Regions from separate parts of the Homo sapiens genome. Here region 2 is linked to region 1. The links are contacts of gene promoters, found by promoter capture Hi-C in blood cells and fetal thymus (Javierre and others, 2016). All regions are on one chromosome and are shown on one strand. The core of a region is centred on a gene start or on the middle of the fragment in contact, and the rest is flanking DNA. Distances in the headings are between cores, read along the strand shown.

Region 1 (4,847 bases), core at 295-2,794:
TATGTTCCCAAATAAAGGGTCCTAGAAGACTAGAAAGCCAAGGTCTTTTATTAAAGGTCCCGACTGGTTTTCCCACTGTATTTCCATGCCAGCCAGGGTCCAGGGACAGCCTCTCGGGAGGTACCGGGTGGCTGGGCCTGGGGCCCGGTAGCACAGCGCTTAACGGTATCTGCCTGCTCCACTCCACGGGGCCAGAGGCACCAGCACGATGCCGCCCCGACTCGGCTCTGCGGTGGCCCCTGTGGGCCTGCCCTTCCTTTAGCTCCAGCTGCTGCCCGCGGCATCCCCGCTCATTCCCGCTGCGCAGCTCCGCGCTTGCTATCTAAGATCTCCCTCCAGTTGTCACTCCAGGAGAGCAGCCGTCTCCTTGTCGGGGGCAGGACCAGGTGCCGATTGTGGCAGCAGGTGAACAAGATGTGCTCCCAGCTTGGGGTCTCCTCCTGGCCTAGGACAGTGAAAGACAGCGCGCTGCCATCTGTCATGGGTATTATTACTCCCTCTCCCTAATCCGGGCAGGCCAGAGGCCTGGAGGCTGCCAAGGATAACGGGTCCAACCTCGAACTGTGTCCTTGTCATCAATGAGCAGGTCCCCCAAGACCACCGTCTTGTCCCTTGTCAGGATAATTCGTTCTACGAACTGGGGCCCCAGGTGCTGCTCCACCCAGCGGTACTGTGTAGAAAACACAGTCTGTGAGTAGGGCCTGATGGAAGCCGGAATTCAGGGATAGGGACTTGGCTCTAAGCCCTTGAGAGCCCCCCACCCCCACCTTCTGGGTTTCTGGTGGTTTCTTTTTAAAATCAGGATTTAGGCAGCTCCACGTGCGGAGTAGGGGCGGGGCAGCCACACCTTCTCACCCACACAGTGGTGGTACTTCAGCAGGGGGCTGGTGCAGATGAAGACCTGCGTGCTGCGGAGAAGGACGCGGTTACCGCCGGGAGCCAGGAGCCCGCCCAGGACTCCGCCCGCCCCCCTCTCTCCTTACTCCGGTAGGTCGTTCATCTCCCGCACAGCGTCCAAGGCTCCCGGGATGGGCTCCAGGTCCAGGAAAAAGCCCGGGGCTTCGTACACACTGGCCACTTTATCCTGAAAGACAAGAGTTCTGGGTCCCGGCTTCCCGTTCCCGCGAGGACCCGCAGGGAGGCTCCTGGGGGCTCCGGGCCCGAGCTCAGAGGGGCGGAGGGGGCGTCGGTCAGGGGCACGCGCCCAAAGGCTCCTCCCCAGGGTGCGCTGCCCGCGGGTTCCAGGGTGAGAGCTCTGCGCCCTTCACAGAGAAGGGGGAGACCCCCGGAACGGAGCGAGCGGGCCCTGCCCGGGTGGGGACCCTGCGCCCCCTACCGCCAGGTCGGGCCGCAGGGCGCGGTACTGCTCGCGGGCCAGGAAGCCGCGGCGTTGCTCCAGCGGCACGTGCGGCTCCTCAGGGAAGCGGCGGCGGAAGCCCCGCAGGAGGCCGGCCTCGAAGTCGGCCAGGACGCCGTCCATGTCCACCAGCACGCGCACGCTCCGCGCCATCGCCGCCGGGCCGGAGCTGCGAGCTCTCGGGGTCTGGGGGGCGCGGGCTCGGCCGGAAGCGGAGGGAGCGCTGCTTCCGGAGTCCGCCGGGCTGATTTGCATAGAGTGTCCGGGCCGCCCCGCCCAGGTCGTAAACCAGTGCCGACGGCCCTGCGGTTGCGCGAGGCCATCCTAGGGTTCGGGTGCAGGGACGGCTTTGGGGGGCACTTTTCTGACCCTGCGCTTCTTCGGGACCCAGCCTTTGTCCCCATCAGCCGCCTCCCACTTTACGGCAGACGTACCCCCGTTCACCCCACGTTACTAGTAGGGGACCGACCTTCCGGGGGCCCAACAAAGGGATGCTCTGAAATACTGGGAAGCATCTAACGAGGAGTCAAGGGTCCTAAACCCGTGGGGCTAGCTCCACATTTTTTTTCTTTTTTTCTTTTTTTTTTTTTTTATTTTGAGACGGAGTCTGGCTCTGTCGCCCAGGCTGCGGCGCAGTGGCGGCGCGATCTCGGCTCACTGCAGCCTCCGCTTCCCGGGTTCAACCGATTCTCTTGCTTCAGCCTCCCGAGTAGCTGGGATTACAGGCACCCGCCACCACGCCTGGCTAATTTTTGTAGTTTTAGTAGAGACGGGGTTTCGCCATGTTGGTCAGGCTGGTTTCAAACTCCTGACCTCAAGTGATCTGCCTGCCTTGGCCTCCCAAAGTGTTGGGATTATAGGCTTGAGCCACCGCACCTGGCCAAAGTCTTATTACCGCAGTACCGTGGTCTCAGTGGATTGCTTTCGTCTGTGCAGTGGAGCAGGAACAATCCCTCGAGGACTACAAAGTGAAATGAATCTGTTAACTGGTTTGTGTAAGTCTAGCTCGTTAAGAGACTAATTCACACTAGAGTTGGCTTGAAACATGGGAGCTTCAAGTGTGGTTTCCCCCGGAAAGATGATTTTGATCAAGCACAGGTAATCAGGACTGTCCTCAGGACTTTATGTGGAACTGACATCGCTTACCTACTCCCGTCTAGAAAATGCTGAACAGGGCCAGGTGCGGTGGCTCACGCCTATAATCCCAGCACTTTGGGAGGCCGTGGCGGGCGGATCATCTGAGGTCGGGAGTTCAAGACCAGCCTGACCAACATGGAGAAATCCTGTCGCTACTAAAAATACAAAATTAGCGTGGTGGCACATGCTTGTAATCCCAGCTACCCGGGAGGCTGAGGCAGGAGAATCTCTTGAATCCAGGAGGCAGAGGTTGCGGTGAGCCGAGATCATGCCATTGCCCTCCAGCCTGGGCAGCAAGAACAAAACTCCTTCTCAAAAAAAAAAAAAAAAAAAAAGAACATGCTGAACTGTGATACATTTTGTTGACTCTTCTTTTTGTGGATGTCATGAAACTTCCTGACTCCACTCAAATCTATTTGCCTACAAACTATAAAGCCAGGCGCCGTGGCTCAGGCTGGTAATCCCAGCACTTTGGGAGGCCCAGGTGGGAGACAGCTTGAGCCCAGGAGTTCAAGACCAGCCTGAGCAACACAGGGAGACCCTGTCTCTACAATAAACAAATCAATAAGCTGGGTATGGTGGCGCATGCCTGTGGTCCTAGCTACTCATGAGCCTTAGGTGGGAGGAACCCTTGAGCCCAGGAAATTGAGGCTACACAGCCTTCATCCTGCCACTGCACTCCAGCCTGGGTGACAGAGGGAGTCCCTGTTGGGGGAGGGGAGAGCCAAAATTATAAACACAGATTTAAGTGGCCCATCTCGCCATTGTTCCCCATCTGATGAACCCACTGCTTCCAAATATATGTAACAGAGGCTGGGCACGGTAGCTCACGCCTGTAATCCCAGCACTTTGGGAGGCTGAGGCGGGCGGATCATGAGGTCAGGAGATCAGGACCATCCTGGCTAACACGGTGAAACCCTGTCTCTACTAAAAATACAAAAAAAAAAAAAAAATTAGCTGGGCATGGTGGCGGGTGACTGTAGTCCCAGCTACTCAGGAGGCTGAGGTAGGAGAATGGCATGAACCCGGGAGGCAGAGATTACAGTGAGCCAAGACCACGCCACTGCACTCCAGCCTGGGCCACAGCGAGACTCCGTCTCAAACAAACAAACAAACAAAACATGTAATAGAAGCATCACACACACAAAAAAACCTGACAGGGCCGGGTGCAGTGGCTCACGCCTGTAATCCCAGCATTTTGGGAGGCCGAGGCAGGTGGATCACAAAGTCAGGAGTTCGAGACCAGCCTGACCAACATGGTGAAACCCCATCTCTACTAAAAATACAAAAACTAGCCGGGCATGGTGGGACATGCCTACAAATCCCAGCTACTCAGGAGGCCAAGGCAGGAGAATTGCTTGAACCCGGGAGACAGACGTTGCAGTGAGCCAAGATCATGCCACTGCAGTCCAGCCTGGGTGACAGAGCCAGACTCCATCTCAGAAAAAAAAAAAGCCTGACAAACCAGTCTAAGAGGGGCTCAAGTCAACATGCATATGACTCATAGATACGCAGACATTTTGGAGGCCCAGACTTGCGAGTTATCTCAAGGGGAAGCAGTCTTGGGGGCTGAGCCCTCAACTTGTGGAATCAAAGCTATCTCCAGGTAACTGATTGTCAGAATTGAATTGGAGGGCCAGGTGAGGTGGCTCATGCCTATAATCCCAGCACTTTGGGAAGTCGAGGTGGGCAGATTACTTGAGGTCAGGAGTTCGACACCAGCCTGGGCAACATGGCATAAACCCTGTCTCTACTAAAAATACAAAAATTAGCTGGGTGTGGTGGCACATGCCTGTAGTCCCAGCTACTCGGGAGGGTGAGGCAGGAGAATCGCTGGAACCCAGAAGGCAGAGGTTGCAGTGAGCAGATTGTGCCACTGCACTTCAGCCTGGGCGACAGACTGAGACACTGTCTTAAAAAAAAAAAAAAATTGGAGGACACCTAGCTGGTATCCACTGCAGAATTGCTTGCTTGCTTGCTTGCTGGTGGGGAGAAATCCCCGCATATTTAAAGTTGGAGAACTTTTTTTGAGACAGGGTCTTGCTGTCACCCAGGCTGGAGTACAGTGGTGCGATCATGGCTCACTGCAGCCTTGATCTCACAGGGTGAAGCAATCCTCCTGCCTCAGCCTCCCGACTACAGGCGTGTGCCATCACACCTGGCTATTTTTGGTAGAGACGAGGTTTCACCATGTTGCCCAGTCTTGGAGAACACTTTAAAATGTTACTGCCCAGAACAAAGGGGAGGTAGAAGAGTCTAACCTGCTCATCTTTAGAGCCTTCTTCAGAAAGAAACCCACTCCTCTCTGGGTCTTCATCTGTTTTAAGATTTTGTTTTTTAAGGAGGTCTCGCT
Region 2 (4,362 bases), core at 1,638-4,137, 120 kb before region 1:
AGCTACTTGGGAGGCTGAGGTGGGAGGATAGCTTGAGCCGGGGAGGCCGAGGTTGCAGTGAGCCGTGATCATACCAGCACTCCAGCCTGAGTGACAGAGCGAGACCTTGTCTCAAAAAATAATAATAATACAATTTTAAAATGAAGTCATAGTCACAGTTACCAGCAGTTAGGACATGGACACATTTTTCTATTTTTTTAATAAAAAAATAAATATTTAAACTTAGTCCTGACCAATCCACCATGCCTCATTGCACATTCCCTATCTACACATAATGATGAGTTTTGTTTTGTTTTGTTTTGTTTTGTTTTTTGACGGAGTCCTGCTCTGTCACCCAGGCTGGAGTGCAGTGGCACAATCTCAGCTCACTGCAACCTCCACCTCCTGGGTTCAAGCGATTCTCCAGCCTCAATCTCCCGAGTAGCTGGGATTACAGGTGCATGCCACCATGCCCAGCTAATTTTTGCATTTTTTTAGTAGAGATGAGGTTTTGCCATGTTAGCCAGGCTGATCTTGAACCCCTGACCTCAGGTGATCCACCCACCCTGGCCTCCCAGAGTGCTGAGATTACAGGTGAGAGCCACCACACCTGGTCAATGATGAGTTTTAAGAGGCCATCTGGTGGGGCATGGTGGCTCATGCCTGTAATCCCAGCACTTTGGGAGGCCGAGTGAGCCAGGCGGATCACGAGATCAGGAGTTCGAGACCAGCCGGGCCAGCATGGTGAAACCCCGTCTCTACTAAAAATACAAAAATTAGTCGGGCATGGTGGTGCACGCCTGTAGTCCCAGCTACTCGGGAGGCTGAAGCAGGAGAATTACTTGAACCCAGGAGGCAGAGGTTGCAGTGAGCTGAAATCGTGCCATTGCACTCCAGCCTCGGCAACAGAGCGAGAGTCAATCTCAAAAAAAAAAAAAAAAAGGAGGTCTTCTGACCCAGGGCGGTACAGAGAAGAAGAAAGGGGTCCTATGTAGGTCCTATGTAGGACCCCCTACATAGGAATAGTACCCCAACTCATAGGCCCTATAGAAAGGCTTGTGTCTGCAAGCTCCTCAGCTGCCAGAAATGACCTCTTTCCTCTCTTCTCCCATGAATGTCCCCTCCCTGAAGCACCATCTCGGCCTATAGAAAACCAAGGAGGAGAAAGGGAAGACTGGCCTCAGCCTTTAGTGCCCATCTTTTTGGGAGAACAGGTGGCCCCTTTCTGGCCTTTCTCCCAGGGCCCCCATTCTGGATAGTTCACGGCAGCAGCAGGTAAGAGGAGCTTGCCAGCTGCTCCTCTCTCCACCCCAGGGCGGCTTGCCTCATTCTCTCCTCTACCCACCTCCTCTCCCAGAATCCAGGCCACCAGATGGCCCAAGCAGGCTGTGTTTATTTGGGGCCATGGAAACCTGCAGCTTCCTTTTCCTATTGCCTTGGGTCAGGTGCAGAGCTGGAGCCCAGCCTCAGAGCAATGATGTCATGGAAAGGTTCTGACTTTATTACTCATAACCCCTTAGCCCCCGACCTGAGTGAATGCCTGGTTTTGCTCCTCTGAGCAGCTTATTCCAGTTGCCATAGAGATGCGTCTATTCCCTTTGAGGTCTTGGGACTAAGTCAAACAGCGCGGGACCCAGGAGACTCTCCTCCCAACCCGAGATAGAGCCCGAGATATGTCAATTGTCACCCCTTTCTAGTCTGAGCTTATAAAGCCAGTGCTTAGAAAGTGGTTTATTCCTTCTTAAAGATTTGCTGTAGCCATAATGCGGAGATGGTAAAAGCTTGGTGTGATGACAATCTCCTGTTTCAATCAGCCAGCATCCCCGGGGGCACATTTTTCTAGATAATTATGCTTGTTCCTAAAAATAGAACTCTTCATTAAGAAACAATCGCTAGCATTACTAATAATTATGAACATTTATTTAGCTTTGTTTCCATTTACCACATAGCCTCTCAACACAGTAACTTAACTAAGGTTTAGCTGTTTTCAAACACTGCTTGCTCTACTGTGAACCTTTTTCAGAATTGGAACTTGTCTGTAGTTCATCCCTTACCAGCGCTATGAAAGGGTTCTAGTTAGCTGGCAGTTCTCTGAATTCTCTCCCTACCTCCCGAGGGACCCCCTCTCTCCTGGCTGGAAGAAAGCATCATCTTGCTCCATAAAGCTGAAGGGCGGGGGACGATGTTCCAGGTTTTGCAAACATTTCTTTCGGTGGCCTGCCTTCTCCTCCCATCTGGTATTTGTCCTGCAGAGCTGCTGGGTATAAGCCAGTACACACACGTGCTCAGCGGGGAATTTGCTCATAGGCTGCCTTGTAAAAAGAGCCTGGCGTTCCTAAAACTCAGCTCTACCAGAACCCAACTTTCAAAAGTACATTCCTACAGAATTCATTTTATCAGTACTCATGGGGTGCCCACGATGTGCCATGTTCTGGGTGCTGGGGATATACCAGTGAGCCGGTGCCCTCCTGGAGCTCACATTCCGGCTAGGAGACAGCAATTAGACAATTAGGACTGAGTGATTTTTGTAAAGGAAGAGAAAAAAGATAAATTAGAGCAGAGTAAAGGGGCTGGGAAGCGCGGGGCGGGAGATGCCCCAGGCTGGCCGGGCAGGCCTCGCTGCTGTTTGAATTGGGCAGTGGGCGGTCCAGGCGGAGGGCACGGACTCTGAAAGGAGAGAAGTGGTGTTTCTGGGGGCCACAAGATCGGGGCACTCTTCCGGTAGCAGCTCGCTCTCTGGCCACCGTCTTCCCCAGCCAACCAGGCCTCCCGGAGGCGGCCGGCCAGAAAGCATCGGCGGGACCCCAGTTTGCCGCCTCCCCTCGGCGGGACCTAGAAACTGCGCGGAACCAAAGCTCGAGGGCGGCTCGAGTTTGCGGACCGCGGGGAGGAAGCGCCCGCCGGAAGCAGTCGCAAGACCTGAGCATGGCGGCCACCAGGTGCCTGCGCTGGGGCCTGAGCCGAGCCGGAGTCTGGCTGCTCCCACCGCCCGCACGGTGCCCACGCCGGGCGCTGCACAAGCAGAAAGACGGCACTGAGTTCAAGAGCATCTACAGCCTGGACAAGCTCTACCCCGAATCTCAGGGCTCGGACACCGCCTGGAGGGTCCCGGTGAGCCGGGAAGGACTGGACGGAAGGGGCGTTTTGTCAGGCTGCTGGGTGACGTTAGGAACCCCAGGCCCATTGGCCGGATGTGGAGCTACGTCGGGGGGCTACGTGATGGTCGCCGCGGGAGGGGGCTGGCTGTCTGCGCTAACCTGGCCGGGAGTGGGGTGCTCGCTGTAGCGCGAGATGTGCAGGAGCCCGGAAGGCCGGCTGGGTATGCTTCTTTCAAGGCTGCCAGCTTTTCTACGTTCGTGTCCTTGGCCCTCAAGACCAAATTCCAGTCCCAAGGGGAAATACGGGCATTCTGGCCCTCCAAGGCGGACAATAAAGGCAAGAGGCTGCCAAGTTGTTTGCTACCCTTTGGGACGTTACAGTGTCCATTGTCTCTAGTAACCCCAGGACGCGCGAATAAAACAGCTTCTCTGTCGTTCCTTCAGGATGCATTTATTTAGCCAGCTGTGTGCAGGCATTGAATCAAGCCCCGGAGCAAGAGAGATAAGACCCACCCAAACCCATTGAGCTTCCACTTACAGGACTGGAAAAGAATATCCATTCATTTGTTCATTAATTCACTCACTCACTCAACAAAAGCTGTGCTAGGCTAGGGGATGGAGTAGCAAACAAAATTGAAATTCTAAAGCTTGTGGAGCTTATGTTCTAGTGGAGGGAGACAAGCAGTAAGTAAATGACTAATATAGAATGTGTGAGGTAGTACTTTGCAGAAAATAAAGCCAAGAAGGAAGAAGTAGTGCCAGAGGTAGGAAGTAGGGTTGCAATTTTAAGTAGGATTGTCTAGGAACGCTGTCAATGAGGTGGCATTTGAATAACGACCTGGAAGAAGCCAGACAGCAAGTCATGAGAATAGGGGGCGGATGAGCATCCTAGGCAGAGGGAAGAGAAAGTGCAATAACCTGAAGGCAGTAGCAATCCCCAGGTGTGGCTCAGCAGGGGTCAGGAGACAAAGCCAAAGAGAGGGATGGCTGGGGAAAGGCCTGTTACTAGGACTTAATGGCCTCCAGCCTTTCCTCTGAACGCAAGGGAGACCTATTGGAGAGCTTGAAGCAGAATGGAATTATCTTAGTTTTACAAGGATCACTCAGAGAGCCTTACAGAGAACAGATAGAGGATGCCAAGATCAGGGAGACAAGTAAGGAGATTGCAATGTAGGGCAAGAGATGATAAGCAGGGTGGAAGCAGTAGGAGTCATGAGAATTGGTCAGATCCTAGACGTATTTTGGAAAGAAAGCCTGCAAGATTTGCTAATTGATTGGATGTGAG

Evidence for each region. Contacts are between HindIII fragments. The CHiCAGO score rates a contact against its expected background, and 5 or more counts as called.
Region 2: the fragment with the promoter of MRPL58 here is called in contact with the fragment with the promoter of NT5C in region 1 in 1 of 17 cell types (endothelial precursors); the score reaches 5.0 in endothelial precursors.

What each region holds. Positions count from the first base shown.
Region 1 is chr17:75,130,198-75,135,044 of GRCh38, forward strand. NT5C (5', 3'-nucleotidase, cytosolic) reads right to left here and starts at 1,545. Exons shown (of 5, transcript NM_014595.3): 1 at 1,337-1,545; 2 at 984-1,084; 3 at 848-908; 4 at 556-670; 5 at 31-445. The coding sequence starts at 1,510. The coding sequence ends at 291. It overlaps ARMC7 (armadillo repeat containing 7), which reads left to right. Exons shown (of 3, transcript NM_024585.4): 3 at 1-75. RefSeq lists an enhancer at 438-527 and silencers at 564-768, 1,138-1,707. The HindIII fragment of the contact is 6,056 bases long and covers 1-4,847 here.
Region 2 is chr17:75,009,783-75,014,144 of GRCh38, forward strand. MRPL58 (mitochondrial ribosomal protein L58) reads left to right here and starts at 2,888. Exons shown (of 6, transcript NM_001545.3): 1 at 2,888-3,090. The coding sequence starts at 2,905. RefSeq lists enhancers at 2,516-2,665, 2,532-3,215, 2,756-3,065, 3,116-3,195, 3,216-3,898 and a silencer at 2,681-2,863. The HindIII fragment of the contact is 1,964 bases long and covers 1,759-3,722 here.